Linked DNA regions of Homo sapiens: region 2 is linked to region 1. The links are contacts of gene promoters, found by promoter capture Hi-C in human tissues and cell types (Jung and others, 2019). All regions are on one chromosome and are shown on one strand. The core of a region is centred on a gene start or on the middle of the fragment in contact, and the rest is flanking DNA. Distances in the headings are between cores, read along the strand shown.

Region 1 (7,316 bases), core at 3,139-5,638:
AGAAGTATTTAATTTTGATGAAGTACAATTCATCCTTTTTTTTTTTTTTCATTTATAGTTTGTGCTTTTTGTGCCATCTTTAAGAAGTCTTTGAGAAATCCAAGGTCACTAAGATATCTTCTAGAAGTTTTGTGATTTTAGCTCTTACATTTAGATGTATGATCCATTTTTAGTTAATTTTTACATATAGTATTGATGGCAGTGGCAGCCCGTCTGGAGCAGCTGCTGCAAAGATGCAAGCTGCAGTGAGGGAGGCCTGGCCAGGGCTGCACACTCCACAGAACCATGAAAACAGGAACAGGCTGGAGCCCCACCTGCTTCTGAGTTGGTGGGGTGGGAGCCCCACCCTCCTGGGCACAGCTGCAGCTGCCCAACCACAGCTGTGGACCTGGGCATCCTTGTGCTCTCAGGGGCCCAGGAAGCCCCTTGCCCCCACAGGCTTGAAAGTGCCTGCTCCTGCTGTCTGGCCTCTCCCTGCTTCTGGGGCAGAGCAAAGTTGTGGCCAAGCCCAGACGCTGTCACAATCTGGCAGGTGTGTGCATGCTTGGGGCAACACTGACATGCCAGCCCCCTGCCACCTCAGCCCCCTCTGGACTTTGGACACTGATGAGCATGGGAGGGGAAGCTGAGGGGGCGCTGAGGGCAGCTCAGTGTGGGCCTGCAGGCTCCCGCTGGCACAAACAGCCTTGGTGCCATGGACAGTGGCATGAGGCAGACTGGCTCCTGGGCAAAAAGGGGTGGGTCCTCAGTGAAACCCTACCTTTAGGCAACTGAGAGTCTGAAGCCTGGGGGCTGGGCTGCCAGGTCCTCAGACTGGAGTGAGAACTTATGGCACTTTTTCTACTGCCCATGGACCAATCAGCATGCACTTCCTCCCTCTTGAGCCCATAAATATCCTAGGCTCAGCCAGACTCAAGAAACATGGGGACAACCTGCCTGCGTGTAGGAGCTACCCACTCCAGATCTCCTCTCTGCTGAGGGCTCAGCAGACATCCTGACGACCTGCCTGCAGAAAGGAGCCACCCACTGTGGGTCTCCTCTCAGCTGAGAGCTGGGCAGACAACCGGACAACCTGCCTGCAGAAAGGAGCTACCCACTTAGAGTCTCCTGAGAGCTATACTGTCACTCAATAAAGCACCTCTTCACCCTACTCACCCTCCAATTGTCTGCATACCTCATTATTCCTGGATGTGGGACAACAACTTGGGACCTGCCAAATGGCAGGACTGAAAGAACTGTAACACAAACAGGGCTGAAACACCCCCTCACTCCCCATGTTGCAAGCGATGAGAAGGACAGAAGAGAGAAGGAGAGAAGAGCTTTGACACTTCGAGAAGCCCAGACCTAAGAGCTCCCTGAGCCAGGACTGTAACACCCTCTTGGGGGCTCTGCATTTCCTGGCATCTCAAAGCTTCCAGGTGCCACCACATTCCCTAGTGCCAGCAGTGGAAGCCGCTTGTGGTACTCCTGGTCCAGCCACAGCTTTGCAGGAGCCAGCGCCCATGCCAGCACCTGGAGCCACCCGCCCCGCCACAGCTGGCGTGCCTAGCTGTGCACAGCGGCCAGACCTCGCGCTCACTTGCTCACGCACCCCTCACCACTTTGCGCCTGGCTCGTCCTTGGCAGGCATGGGATCTGGGCCAGTGGCATGAGCCGAGTGCAGCCTGCAAGGCCAAATGGGCAGAATGAGCCCAGTGGGCCTGAGCAAAACTCGGGCAAAGGAGCCACCGGCCACAGAGGTTTCTGGCTGGCAGAGCAACACTCCAAGGATCCTGTGACAGTATGAGGAAAGGAGCAAGATATTAAGAGTTTTTTGGCATATGCTATTCAATTTTTTCAGGTTTATTTGTTGAAAAGATTATCTTTTCCCCCACTGAATTGCCTTGGCATATTTGTCGAAAATCAATTGATGACATATGTATAGATACATCTCTGGGTTCTATATACTGTTCCATTACTCTATCTATTTTCATACCTATACTATACTGTGTTGAGTAGCTCTTATTATAATGTCTTGAGATCAGGTAGTGTAAGTCCCAAAACTTTGTTTTTTTTGATGAAAGTCTTGACTATCCTAGGTCCTTTGCATCTCCATATAAATTTTAGAATTAGTTTGGTCATTTCCATCAAAAAGAAATCTGCTAGAATTTTTATTGGAATTTCCTTAAATCTGTAGGTCAATTTAGGCAGAAGTGATATCTTAAAAATGCTCAGTCTTCTGATTCATGAACATAATGTATCTCTATTTATTTAGGTCTTCTTTAATTTCTCTTAACAATGTTTTTTATTTTATTTTAGATTCAGGGGGTACACGTGTAGTTTTGTTACATGGGTATATCGAACAATGCTGAGGTTTAGGCTTCTAATGATCCAGGTCACCCAAGTGGTGAACATAGTACCCAATAGTAGTTTTTTCTACCCTTTTGGAATCCCCAGTGTTTATTGTTCCCAACTTTGTGTCTGTGTACTCAACGTTTAGCTCCTACTTATAAGTGAGAACATGCGGTATTTGGTTTCCTGTTTCTGCATTATTTTGCTTAGGACAATGGCCTCCAGCTGTATTCATGTTGCTGCAAAAGATATGATCTAGTCCTTTTTGTGGTTGTATAGTATTCCATGGCGTATATGTACCACACTTTCTTTATCCAATCCACTATTGATAAGCACCTGGGTTGATTCCATGTCTTTGCTATTCCATAATATTTTATAGTTTTCAGTATACATGTCTTTCTCATCTTTGGTCAAATTTGTCCCAAATTTGCTGCTTTTTTTTTTTTTTTTTTTTTTGCTGATAAGAGATATTTAAAAATTTTCCATTTCTAATTGTTCATTGCTAGTATATAGAAATACAACTGATTTTTGTATATTTGATTTTGTATCTTGCAACTTTTGTAAACTCACTTATGAGTTCTAGCAGCTTTTTTGTAGTATTCCACAATTTTCTTATGCAAATAAATGCAGTGCTACAACTTCCTTTCCAACTTGGATGCCTTTTATATATTTGTCTTTTTTTATTTCATTGACCAGAACTTCCAATACAATGTTTAATTGAAGGCAATTTTTACAGAGTAATATTTCTAACTCCCAGGCCCGGATTAGGCTGAACTATGGAATCTTGTTGAATTTGATATCTTTTGGAATTTATTAAATCATTATTTATACTTCATTTTTAAGCTTTTTCCTTTTCCAGTGTTCAAATATTCATCAAATGTTCAAATATTGAACAAGTACCATGCTGGCTGTCAGGGAAATAATGGTGCACAAACAGGCATGGACCTAGCGCTAATGAAGTCTTACCGTACTACCGAGGCAGTTTAAAACAGGAATTAAAAACACAGGTTCAGGGTTCTGTCTGCTTGGGTTTGAATCTGGCTCTGCTCCTTAATGGTTGTTTGACCTTGGAAAAGTTAATCGACTTTTCTAAGCCTGTGTCTTAGTGAAGGTATTAATAATACCTACTCACAGGATTGCTGTGAAGATTAAACGAATTAATACCTTTAAAGTCCTTAAAATACGGTTTGACATATAGTAAATGGTCAAAGAGTATTATTATTAGAGGGAAGAATTAGCTCTTCACAAGGTGAATCTACAAGTGACTGGTGAAGGAGGGGTGTACAAACAAGAAACATAAAAACCAGTTTAACTGCTAAGCATAGAGGCAGCAGTGTCAGCTGTACCTGGGTTAAAATCCTTGCTCTGCTGTTTATTGTCTAGGCAACTTTGACCAGACGACTTAAACAAGAGCAATGCCCGTAAAGTGCCTAGTGCAGTATTTGGCACACAACAGATGCTTAAAAGACAGCAATTACTGATTCAGACGTCCCGCAGAGCAGTAATATCACTAACATGTGCTCATCATCATATCTATCATTTATCAAAGCTCAGGATTTTGAACCTTGTAATTACTTTTCATACATTCTCTTATGCTTAACAACTCGGCTAGGTGAACACAATCCATTGCCTCATAAAGAAACAAGATGACCTTTGTGTATCTATCATCAGTGGGGAGGCTGGAGGTCTGGGAAGTGGTACCTTGGAGCCCAACTGTTGACCAAACCAGGGCTCTCAGTGCGGCCTTGGTCGCCAGCGGGGCGCTCCACTTTCCGCTCCGGAGATGGCACCAGGAGAGATGGGAGTCTGCCAGGCTGTTTCCATGGCCACCTCATGAAGCCCCTGCTCCGGGAGCGTGACAGGCGAGACTCTCCTTCGCCGCCACCTCTCGTCTCAGATGACCATCTGGGCTCGAAAGCCCTCAGGAGCTGCGGAGCGCGGGTCGGTAGGGGCGCTGCAGAGGAAGGTTGGGCGCCGTCTCCCGGCAACGCGCGGGGGGCGGGGCTTTGCGTCACAGAGGTGCGACCGGGTCCCGGCCTGAGTCGCGGCCACCCGCAGGTCTGAGCTGTGGGCTGAGGCAGCGCAGCCGCTGCCGCAGGGTGCGCGATGCCTTGAACCTGGGGTGAGCTCCGCGGCGCTGTCCTTTCGTGTTTCCCTTGCTAGCTGCTCCAGGACTCTGGGTCTGGGAAGAGAAACCCCAGAGGGCCCTCCGCTGCCGAGCCAGGCTTCCGCGGGGAGACAGGCCTAGCCCCGCCGCCCTCCCCGGGCCTCGGATTGGGGCGTGGGGACGGCTGGGGAGGCCATTCTATTGACGCCCGTCTTCTGCCCGGCGGGTTCCAGTTGCCCGGGGTGGCGGTGGCTTGTCCCGCCTCGGGGTGGTTCTGAGGGACCCGGAGAGAGTTTTTCCTTCTCTATCCCAAAACGGTTGTTTGAATATTGCCGCCGGCTCAGTCATTCGGCCGCCGGACTTAGCTGTTGGTTAAATGTCCAGGTGCGCTTGAGGAGGGGCTGAGGCGGCGTAGCCAGAGCGAGCGCTAGGGTGGCCCGCGGGCTCGGTCTCCGCCGGGCTGGACACCCAAATAAGAAACCTTTTGCCTGGGACGATAGCTCAGAAATAGCCACGTCGATCTACTTAGCCAGCCCCACACTTATGAATTGGCTTAGGCTGCTACCCTTCCCAAAGGTCTTTCCTTGTCAAACTAGCTGCTACCTTGAGACCCGGCTAAGAAAAGAACGTTTTCTTGCTAATAATAAGAAGGTAGTGATTACACAGCAGGAGCAGAAGGCTTCTGTGTTAGCTTTTGAAATTATTCCTTCAGTTATTTGTCTCGGCGTTACAAAATGTGGATTTACGATTGTTATTGAAATCGATCCCTATGCCCCTTATTAAAGGTAGTGTACCTTTTATATTCTGACACTGTCCTATTTAGCGGTGCCAGCTAATTCAGTTCTTGCCTCTGGCATATATATAAAGCTGCTGGAACACTTTCAATTGTTTATAATTCTTACATCTTCAGCACGAATTTATTCGTTTTCACTCCCTTCTGCCCATTCTTCTTGCTATAAAATGACCTCTACCCATTCAGAATTTTGTCTGGGGGCATGAGCTGCCACCGGCCGACGATCCTAAATTAGTCACCTCCATGTCGAAGTCACCCGTCTGAGAAGTGATGCTTTCTGAATTCAGAGCTCAAAAATAGTATGGATTTTTATCCTTTTCTTTCACATTGCCTGACTTCAGTTTCTAGAACTTTTTCTCAAGAATATGACTATATGTTTCAAAAATTAATATTTGTCATTTGGTGTAAATGAACTTTATATTCGATGTGTGTAGCCTGATCCTTCTTGGTTCCCATCTAAATACAAACACGCTTTCCTTCCCAAAAAGGCAAGGGAGGTCCAGAGAGAATTCTTACAAGTCTAATATGCTTTTTCCAATATGAAATGCATTTAGTAAACACACTGTTACTGTGAGAAATCCATATTCTTAATCTCCTAGTACGGCACTCTATCCTTTTGTAGTTTCTCTCTCCTTCTCTCTCTAATATATATGTATGTATCTTTTTCTGATCAAGATCTTTGATTCTGGAACAGGCATTCTGGACTCTATAGTGACTCTGGCCTAATTATTTCACTATGTATCTATATTAACTTGTCTTGAAAAAAAAAAGTTGATATCTGTTTACAGATCTACAGTTTGAGTAAACAATGAGTAATAAAGTAAATAATATCCTTAGGGACCCAGTCAGTAGTACTTGGTATTTATTACTGATGTTAAAGTTGACTTGACAGTGAAAATCATTGATGTTTATTTCAATTAAATCCTTTTAGGTGAGGTTGATACAAAATTTGATGGAGAACTGGTTTCAGAGAGGTTTTTAAAATACTACAGTGCAGTACTTGTCATTTAGTCATTTTGGTGCATTTTCAGCCTTTTCCATTTTGCTTTAGTTATTTTATGAATGAATTATGGTTTAAATTTTTAGGAGTTTTTGAGCAGTTTTTTCGTTTTTGCTTTGCCAGTTACCCATGATGTAATTTTAATATTTTTATAAGGAATATTTGAACTTCCACAATTCATTTGTTAGAAAAATAAGTGATTCACTATGTACCACCCACTAGAGAATGTGGCATTTTTGGAATCCTTGATCTTGTGCATTTCAAAATAACAGTTCTTTATTTAGAAAATCCTTCAAATGCTTTTTGAAAGCATATTTTTATCTTGCAAAAAATGACTGTGTTATAGGTGGCACAATAATATGAGAGCTGCTAGTTCTTTGAGAAATCTTGACCAGAAATTCATCTTTTGTTGAATTCTGTGCCAGTGGTTTGCAAATTATGTTTCTATGCAATACCACTGTTGCATGGCCTAGGGGGGAGTATCTTGTTAAAATCAAATAGTAAATGTTTCCCAGTTTACATAAGCATTAATTTAATGACAGATTTTCACAGTTTTACATTTTCTTTCATACATATTTTTAACTTCTGCTTCTCTCCAACCTAGTACTAATAGATGACTGACCAAATTAACAAAAGTCAAAAGAATACTAAGTGAATAATAATAAAACAAAAACTGCCAATGGTATTTACTGCATTTATTCAGTAAACATCTATTGAGTGCTTGTGTATCTGCCAGAAGACAGACCATAGCTGCTGTCCTCAAGAAGCTCACTAGAGGGAAATGGCCAAGTGACTTAACGAATGTCATAGTATGATAGAAATATGTGCAGTCACCAAAGAGGGACACTGAAAAGCTGTGGTGGTTGACTAGAGGATGGCCTCAACAGATTGTTTTCGTGAACATGCACTCTGTGTTGTGGTTTTATATTGTATGCAGATCACAGAGTCATATCTTATTTTCACACCCATATAGTGATAGATGTTAATATTTATCAATATTTTATGGTTTTCAAAATAAACTAAATGTCAAGCCCTCTTTCTGGAACCAGGTTGAAAACCACTTCTGCAGGCTCTCTCAGGTAGTC
Region 2 (7,316 bases), core at 1,700-4,199, 310 kb before region 1:
GTTTATCTCTAAAGTGGGGTTATTAATAATCCTTGTGTCTTCATAGATGAGATAATCTATATGAGGGATTTAGCAGTAATTGGCATACAGTAAACAATCATCAGTCATTAGACATTGTTTACCTGAGGAGATTGGTCACTGGGGGGCTAAAAATGATTGTAGTGAAAGAACTGCTTCATGTAATAGTTCTATGTATAATTCCATTTTAGATTCAAGACCTAGTTTTAGAGACATTGATGAGGTTGTACTTTTAAAAATTAGGCTTAGTTTCAAGTTCTAGAAAGTGTGGTGGTGGTGTTGTTTTAACATGTTTCTATGAAGTCAGTAGGTGGGGGAACATCTCAAAGCATCTAAATTGCCAAGATATTGAACAGGATGAAAATGTTAGAATTTTTACTATGCTAGGCGTCTTCTCTTTCAGTCCAAGATCTGCATTGCAGTAAAGAATCATTTTCACTGCTTAGATCCAGAAAGAATAAACCCATCTTACGGGTTTATAGTTAGTTCTGCTTGTTACTGTATCTAATTTTAATTTTTCTCATTCTAGGCTTTTGGTTACTCCCCTTCCCACCCCATCCCTTAATTTTATTCTTTTGAAGAGTGCATTTCAAGCTGCCAAGGTGGAGAGAGGGATTACAGAAAGGAGAACACCTTATTTCAGGTATCTTATCCTCTACCCCTTAATAGGAGAACCATTTTGACTCAAGATCTAACATGAGAATACAAAACTTACTCTATAGCCAGGTTATAAAGTTTAAATCAAAAGTAGCTATATTTGGACAGACATAATTTGTATGCCTTGATTTATAGAGTTAATAGTATTCTTTAGCAATCCTTAGATTGCATTATCCTTTTAATTTTGATTTGTTTTATTATATGAGAAATAAACCTCTTAAATGAGAGTTTATTTTTTTTTTTTAGGTCCTGGTTAAGTCGTCACCTGTTGTATAAATAGAATGCAGAGTTATCTGTAAAAATATACATTACTTTCATTGAGTCTTAATTTGGATAATATAAACGTTTATATAATTTAAGTCCAGAGAAACAGTACCTAACTTTTGATATACAATTTATTCTTCATTGTTAACGCATAACATTTAGGATACAGTAGAATTATGTATCTCGCAAAACTTGGAACTGTGTGTGTGTTTAATTCACTTCTTCAGAATTGTTGCTAGCCCTGAAGGGACTTCAGATATATAATAGTATCAACAACTAATACATCTAATGACAGTAGGCATCAAAAGCTAAAAGAGATTTCACAATACTACATACCATGAGACAGGGCTGATAAATTATGGCCCATGCTGTCTGGTTTTGTACGTAAAGTTTTATTGGAACACACCTGTGTCCATTCTTTCATGTATTGTCTATGGCTGCTGTCATGTTACAACTACAGAGTTGAGTAGTTGCAACAGAGACTATATGGCCCTTGACCAAAAAAAGCCTGCCAACCCCTGCCATGGGACATATTCTTCAGGGTCCCTTTCTTAAAAATATGTATAACAACTCTTAATAATTTATTGGCTCAGTGATTCCCAAATTATGTTTTATAGAATATTAATATTCTCTAAGTTAATAAATGTTTTGAGAAAATGATTGATGCTAATATTGGTTTTTCTTTATGGTTGATTTTAATATGTTTATTTAAATATGAGATTAAGACTGCTAAACTCATTTCTATAGCTTTTATTTTTATGTGATAATCTACCTTTAAGAAAAGGTGTACCATACCTGAGAGCACCAGGAAGTCGCATGAGAGATCACCTGATACATGAACGTATGATGTTCCATCTGCGCATTGATGAATAGGCAGCATTTACAAATTAACTGATGTGTTGCTGTATATCATCTCTTTGATGATTGCTCCTCTTCTTTGTATCCTGTCTTATAATTTCAACACATTTGCGATACTCAATGTCTATTCTAAATTAACCATGTTTTGTACCACAAACTCATTGCCCATGGATCTGTTGCTGAAACAAGGAAGTCTTAAACAAGAAGTGGAATCTTTCTGTTATCAGATTGTGTCTGAATCAAATGATCAGAAGGTTGGAATATTACAAAGTGAAGATAAGCAGTTGCAACCTTCAGTTTCTAAAAAATCAGAAGGTGAGCTTTCCAGGGTCAAATTTATATCCAATTCCAACAAAATAACATTTAGTAAAAAACCAAAAAGAAGAAAATATGATGAAAGTTATTTGTCTTTTGGATTTACTTACTTCGGAAATAGAGATGCACCTCATGCTCAGTGTGTATTATGTAAGAAAATTTTATCAAATAGCTCTTTAGCCCCTAGTAAGCTTCGAAGACATTTGGAAACTAAACATGCTGCATATAAAGACAAAGACATAAGCTTTTTCAAGCAACATCTCGATTCACCTGAAAATAATAAACCCCCAACACCTAAAATTGTGAATACAGATAATGAAAGTGCTACAGAAGCATCATACAATGTAAGTTACCATATAGCGCTGAGTGGAGAGGCTCATACTATTGGAGAATTGCTTATCAAACCTTGTGCAAAAGATGTAGTGATGCGGATGTTTGATGAACAATATAGTAAAAAAATAGATGCAGTACAGCTATCAAACAGTACTGTTGCACGTCGAATTAAGGATCTAGCTGCTGACATTGAAGAAGAGCTTGTTTGTAGACTGAAAATTTGCGATGGGTTTTCACTGCAACTAGATGAATCAGCTGATGTTTCAGGACTTGCTGTGCTGCTTGTGTTTGTTCGTTATAGGTTTAATAAGTCTATTGAGGAAGACCTACTCCTGTGTGAATCTTTGCAAAGTAATGCTACCGGTGAAGAAATATTCAACTGTATCAACAGTTTTATGCAGAAACATGAAATTGAATGGGAAAAATGTGTTGATGTTTGTAGTGATGCTTCTAGGGCAGTGGATGGGAAAATTGCCGAAGCTGTCACCTTAATAAAATATGTGGCTCCCGAAAGCACCAGTAGTCACTGCCTATTATACAGACATGCACTGGCAGTTAAAATAATGCCTACATCTCTAAAAAATGTGCTAGACCAGGCAGTACAAATCATCAATTATATTAAAGCTCGACCACATCAATCCAGACTATTAAAAATTTTATGTGAGGAAATGGGTGCTCAGCACACAGCACTTCTTCTAAATACAGAGGTGAGGTGGCTTTCTCGAGGTAAAGTTCTTGTAAGACTTTTTGAACTTCGTCGTGAACTTTTGGTTTTCATGGATTCTGCTTTTCGACTATCTGATTGTTTAACAAATTCATCTTGGCTGCTAAGACTTGCATATCTTGCAGATATTTTTACTAAATTAAATGAAGTTAATTTGTCAATGCAAGGAAAAAATGTGACCGTTTTTACAGTATTTGATAAAATGTCGTCATTGTTAAGAAAATTGGAATTTTGGGCCTCATCTGTAGAAGAAGAAAACTTTGATTGTTTTCCTACACTCAGTGATTTTTTGACTGAAATTAATTCTACAGTTGATAAAGATATTTGCAGTGCCATTGTGCAGCACCTAAGGGGTTTGCGCGCTACTCTGTTAAAATACTTTCCTGTAACAAATGACAATAATGCTTGGGTTAGAAATCCATTTACAGTTACTGTTAAACCAGCTTCATTAGTAGCACGGGACTATGAGAGCCTGATTGATTTAACATCTGATTCTCAAGTGAAGCAAAATTTTAGTGAACTTTCACTAAATGATTTTTGGAGTAGCCTAATTCAGGAATACCCAAGCATTGCAAGGCGTGCAGTGCGTGTACTTCTTCCTTTTGCTACAATGCACCTGTGTGAAACGGGGTTTTCATATTACGCTGCAACAAAAACAAAATATAGGAAAAGACTTGATGCTGCACCTCATATGCGAATCCGACTTAGCAATATTACACCTAATATTAAGCGGATATGTGATAAAAAGACACAAAAACACTGTTCTCATTAAAATTGGAGGAGTTTGCATGTCTCATGATAACCAAATGTAAGATGAAAATAAAAGATGATTTACTTCATCTCTGGTATTTGGGGGATTTAAATAAAATGATTCCATTTTTTTATACTATTTAGATTTTAAGAAGGCTAAAGAATCAAACGTTTTAAACATATTGTGTTATTATTGGTATTTCTTTACATTGTAATTTTAAAGAGTTCCATGATCATAACTGGGAAATAATGATCCCCAAGATAAAGTCCCAGTCCCTTAACATATCTCTTCAGGATCTAATCCCTACCAATCTTTCCGTGTCTACTCTGCAGCTCTCCAATCCCATGGAACTTCTTGCCATTCCCTAAACATATCACACTGTTTTATCGTTTCAGGTCTCAAAAAGCGATTCTGTCCCCATCTTACTTTCTGGTAGGCTCCTATTTGCTTCAACACTTTGACTTGTAGGTACTTTCATTCTCTGTATCTTCCTATTTTGATGCTGTTTCACACTTGTATTTAATGTTTGTGTCTGTCTCAACTGTGAACTCCTTGATGGTCTCACGGTTCCCAATGTTTTCAGACTAAGCTCTTAGAGAGTCTTATTGAGTCTTATCCAAATCTGTGTCTCCATAATCTGGAAAAAGGCTTTACTAAATTAGATGCTCAGTAAAGGAAAAACATGTTGGTGAAAGTGAACCAACAAAAAATGGAATGGGGGATTTCCTACATTCATTGATTGGTATGGTAGCAGGTGTACACACTGCTACCCTTTGGGTTTTTTGGCTCACTTACTCTATTAACTAGAGTTCAGTGTGGCCATTATGCAGAGGTCATCGAGGAATGTCATAGTTTTATGATTCAGGCTGAACTATTGAGGGAGAGGGGATGAAGTGTGAAGAGTATTTTCAGATACTTTGTTTTTTTCTCAGTTCCTATATAGATTATTGTAAATTCCACATGCAGTATAAATTAATGAGACTTTACTGTAGTCAGAGATGCTTAGACCAGAAATCAGTTTGTTCTTATAATACTGTAAAAATTTCCTGACTGAATTTCCTGTCTCTGGGCTACTTTTCCTACATCACGTCATGCAACACAGTTCACCAACTCAGTGTTAAATATTTGTTACTCCTGTAGTCAAGAACTACTGTAGATAACCATTATTTAATCTCATTTATTGAAACTTCCATTTTAGGGAGTAAAGGTACCACCCCCCACCATTAAGGCAGAATGTGGTAAAATGACTAGGTTCAAGTACCTACTTTACTTTGTAATGTACGGTAATCTGAACTTGAACCTCAGTTGTTTCATCTATAAAATTACAATTACGCCTCCTTTGAAGGGTTGTTATCAAGATTAAATGTGAATGTATAAATATAAAGCTCCTAACAGTTGATGATCAGGAGTAGGTGTACAGCATATATTAGTTCTCTGCCATATCCAACTATGTTCCAGTTAAAGTTGAGTCTACACTTCACACTTCTAATCTGGATTTTTATTCTCTGGAGACTCAACAGTTTACTAGACCATGGGACATTTCCTGATCCAAGGCAACAAGATTACATACTTCTAGCCCAGGTTTTTCCTCCTTGTTGCCTTATTAAGCACTTATTTGTCTGTGAGGAACTTTATTTTATTTATTTATTTTTTGAGACAGAGTCTTGCTCTGTCACCCAGGCTGGATTACAGTGGCGCGATCTTGGCTCACTGCAACCTCTGCCTCCCAAGTTCAACCAATTCTCATGCCTCAGCCTCCGAAGTAGCTGGGATTACAAGTGTGCACCACCACCCCCAGCTAATTTTGTTTGTGCTGGAGTAAAGTGGCGTGATCTCACCTCACTGCAACTTCAGTCCCCACCCCCCGCCCGCCCCCCATCCCCCAGCGATTCTCCTGCCTCATCCTCCCGAGTAGCTGGAATTACAGGCACGTGCCACCACACCCAGCTAATTTTTGTATTTTTAGTAGAGACGGGGTTTCTGCATGTTGGCCAGGCTGGTCCCGAACTCTTGATCTCAGGTGATCCACCCGCCTCGGCCTCTCAAAGTGCTAAGATTGCAGGCATGAGCCACCACAGCTGGCCTAATTTTTGTATTTTTAGTAGAGACGGGGTTTCACCATGTTGGCCAGGCTGACCTTGAACTCCTGACCTCAGGTGATCCGCCCACCTAGGCCTCCCAAAGCACTGGGATTACCGATGTGAGCCACTGCGCCCAGCCTGTCAGGCACTTTAATAGTTGCTTTGTATTTATCTATAATCTTTACAACAATCTTATGGGATTCAGTCATTTTTGGACTTGACCTAGGTCATAGGTAATTAGCAGGATTTAGTTTAAAGTAAGTCTTTCCCAAATACAGAGCTTTTTCCCATCATTGCCTTCTGAACTTTTCTAAGACAAACAGTGACTTGGAAGTACAGCCTGAAACTGCCTACTAGAATCTGGACATTTCTTTGAAGTCTTGTGTTTACTTCTAAATTCACCGAAATTGGCTAATTTAAAATATGACTAATTTTCATGTAAAATATAGAGTAAATTGCTGTCAACTACTAATTCCTTAGAAGATGTATCATAATTTCTTATATATGCAATGCTTTTTATTTACTAGTCCCAGAATTATACCCTAGTTTGAGAAGGATGTGCAGTTCCTTAATATCTGTGTCCAGCATATACCTCAAGCCTGGTAACTAGACTCCTGCGATTGCTGAGTTCGAGCCCTTCATTAGATTATTTGTCCAAGATGTCAGCCTCTTAAAATATAAAACCATTCTTGTTTTCCAGTCCTTTTCCCCTAACCTCCTTGGAGACTAGATTCCTGCTCTTAAGTCCAAGTCCATTATCTGAGACCCTGCTGTCTGCTACTAGACCTTTTTAATGCTGACCGTACCCATTTTGGTTCTTGATGCCAGCTGTTCACCTCATCTGTAACGTATCAGGACTAAATTATGGATACCATGCACAGCTAGTGAGAATGGACTTTTAGTACGTGAAGGTGGGTCTGGTGGACAACAGACAAGTCGAGTTCCAGATAGCAACTAGTTCTAGATTACCCTAACCTAAATGTAGTTACCGTGACTGAATCCCAAAGAGAAGATTCTTTTCCTTTGTATTTAAACCCTACCTACCCTTCAGAATTGGCTTTTTTTTCTCTAAATAAAACCAAAGGAAACCAAGTAACAAGCACTGCCAGCCTCCCTTTCTTCCATACTTCCAAAGCCCTTTGGTTACCCTTCTGCCACTGTAATGTCCCTGAGACTGTAATAATGAAGCACTCTCTGGAGCTGGAGGGAAACCTCTGACAAACCCTTTCACATAAAAGAGAGAACAACTCTTAGAGGAAGAAATGAATGGCATTCCATTTAATAAATGGAAGAGCTATTTGGGGACTAAATTACA

What was found. The method cuts DNA at HindIII sites, captures the fragments that hold promoters and counts their contacts. A contact is called where the count stands out against the background at its distance.
Region 2: a contact is called between a fragment that was not itself captured here and the fragment with the promoter of RNF141 in region 1, in 1 of the 25 tissues and cell types used here (hippocampus).

Annotation. Positions count from the first base shown.
Region 1 is chr11:10,538,259-10,545,574 of GRCh38, reverse strand. RNF141 (ring finger protein 141) reads left to right here and starts at 4,388. Exons shown (of 6, transcript NM_016422.4): 1 at 4,388-4,453. It overlaps IRAG1-AS1 (IRAG1 antisense RNA 1), which reads right to left and starts at 4,339. Exons shown (of 4, transcript NR_046375.1): 1 at 4,033-4,339. RefSeq lists an enhancer at 4,203-4,312. The HindIII fragment of the contact is 8,088 bases long and covers 2,294-7,316 here.
Region 2 is chr11:10,849,489-10,856,804 of GRCh38, reverse strand. It overlaps ZBED5 (zinc finger BED-type containing 5), which reads left to right. Exons shown (of 3, transcript NM_001143667.2): 2 at 548-661; 3 at 1,719-4,099. The coding sequence starts at 1,860. The coding sequence ends at 3,941. Among named protein-coding and RNA genes, the nearest start is that of ZBED5, 4.9 kb to the left of the region's middle. RefSeq lists a silencer at 6,736-6,936. The HindIII fragment of the contact is 3,978 bases long and covers 961-4,938 here.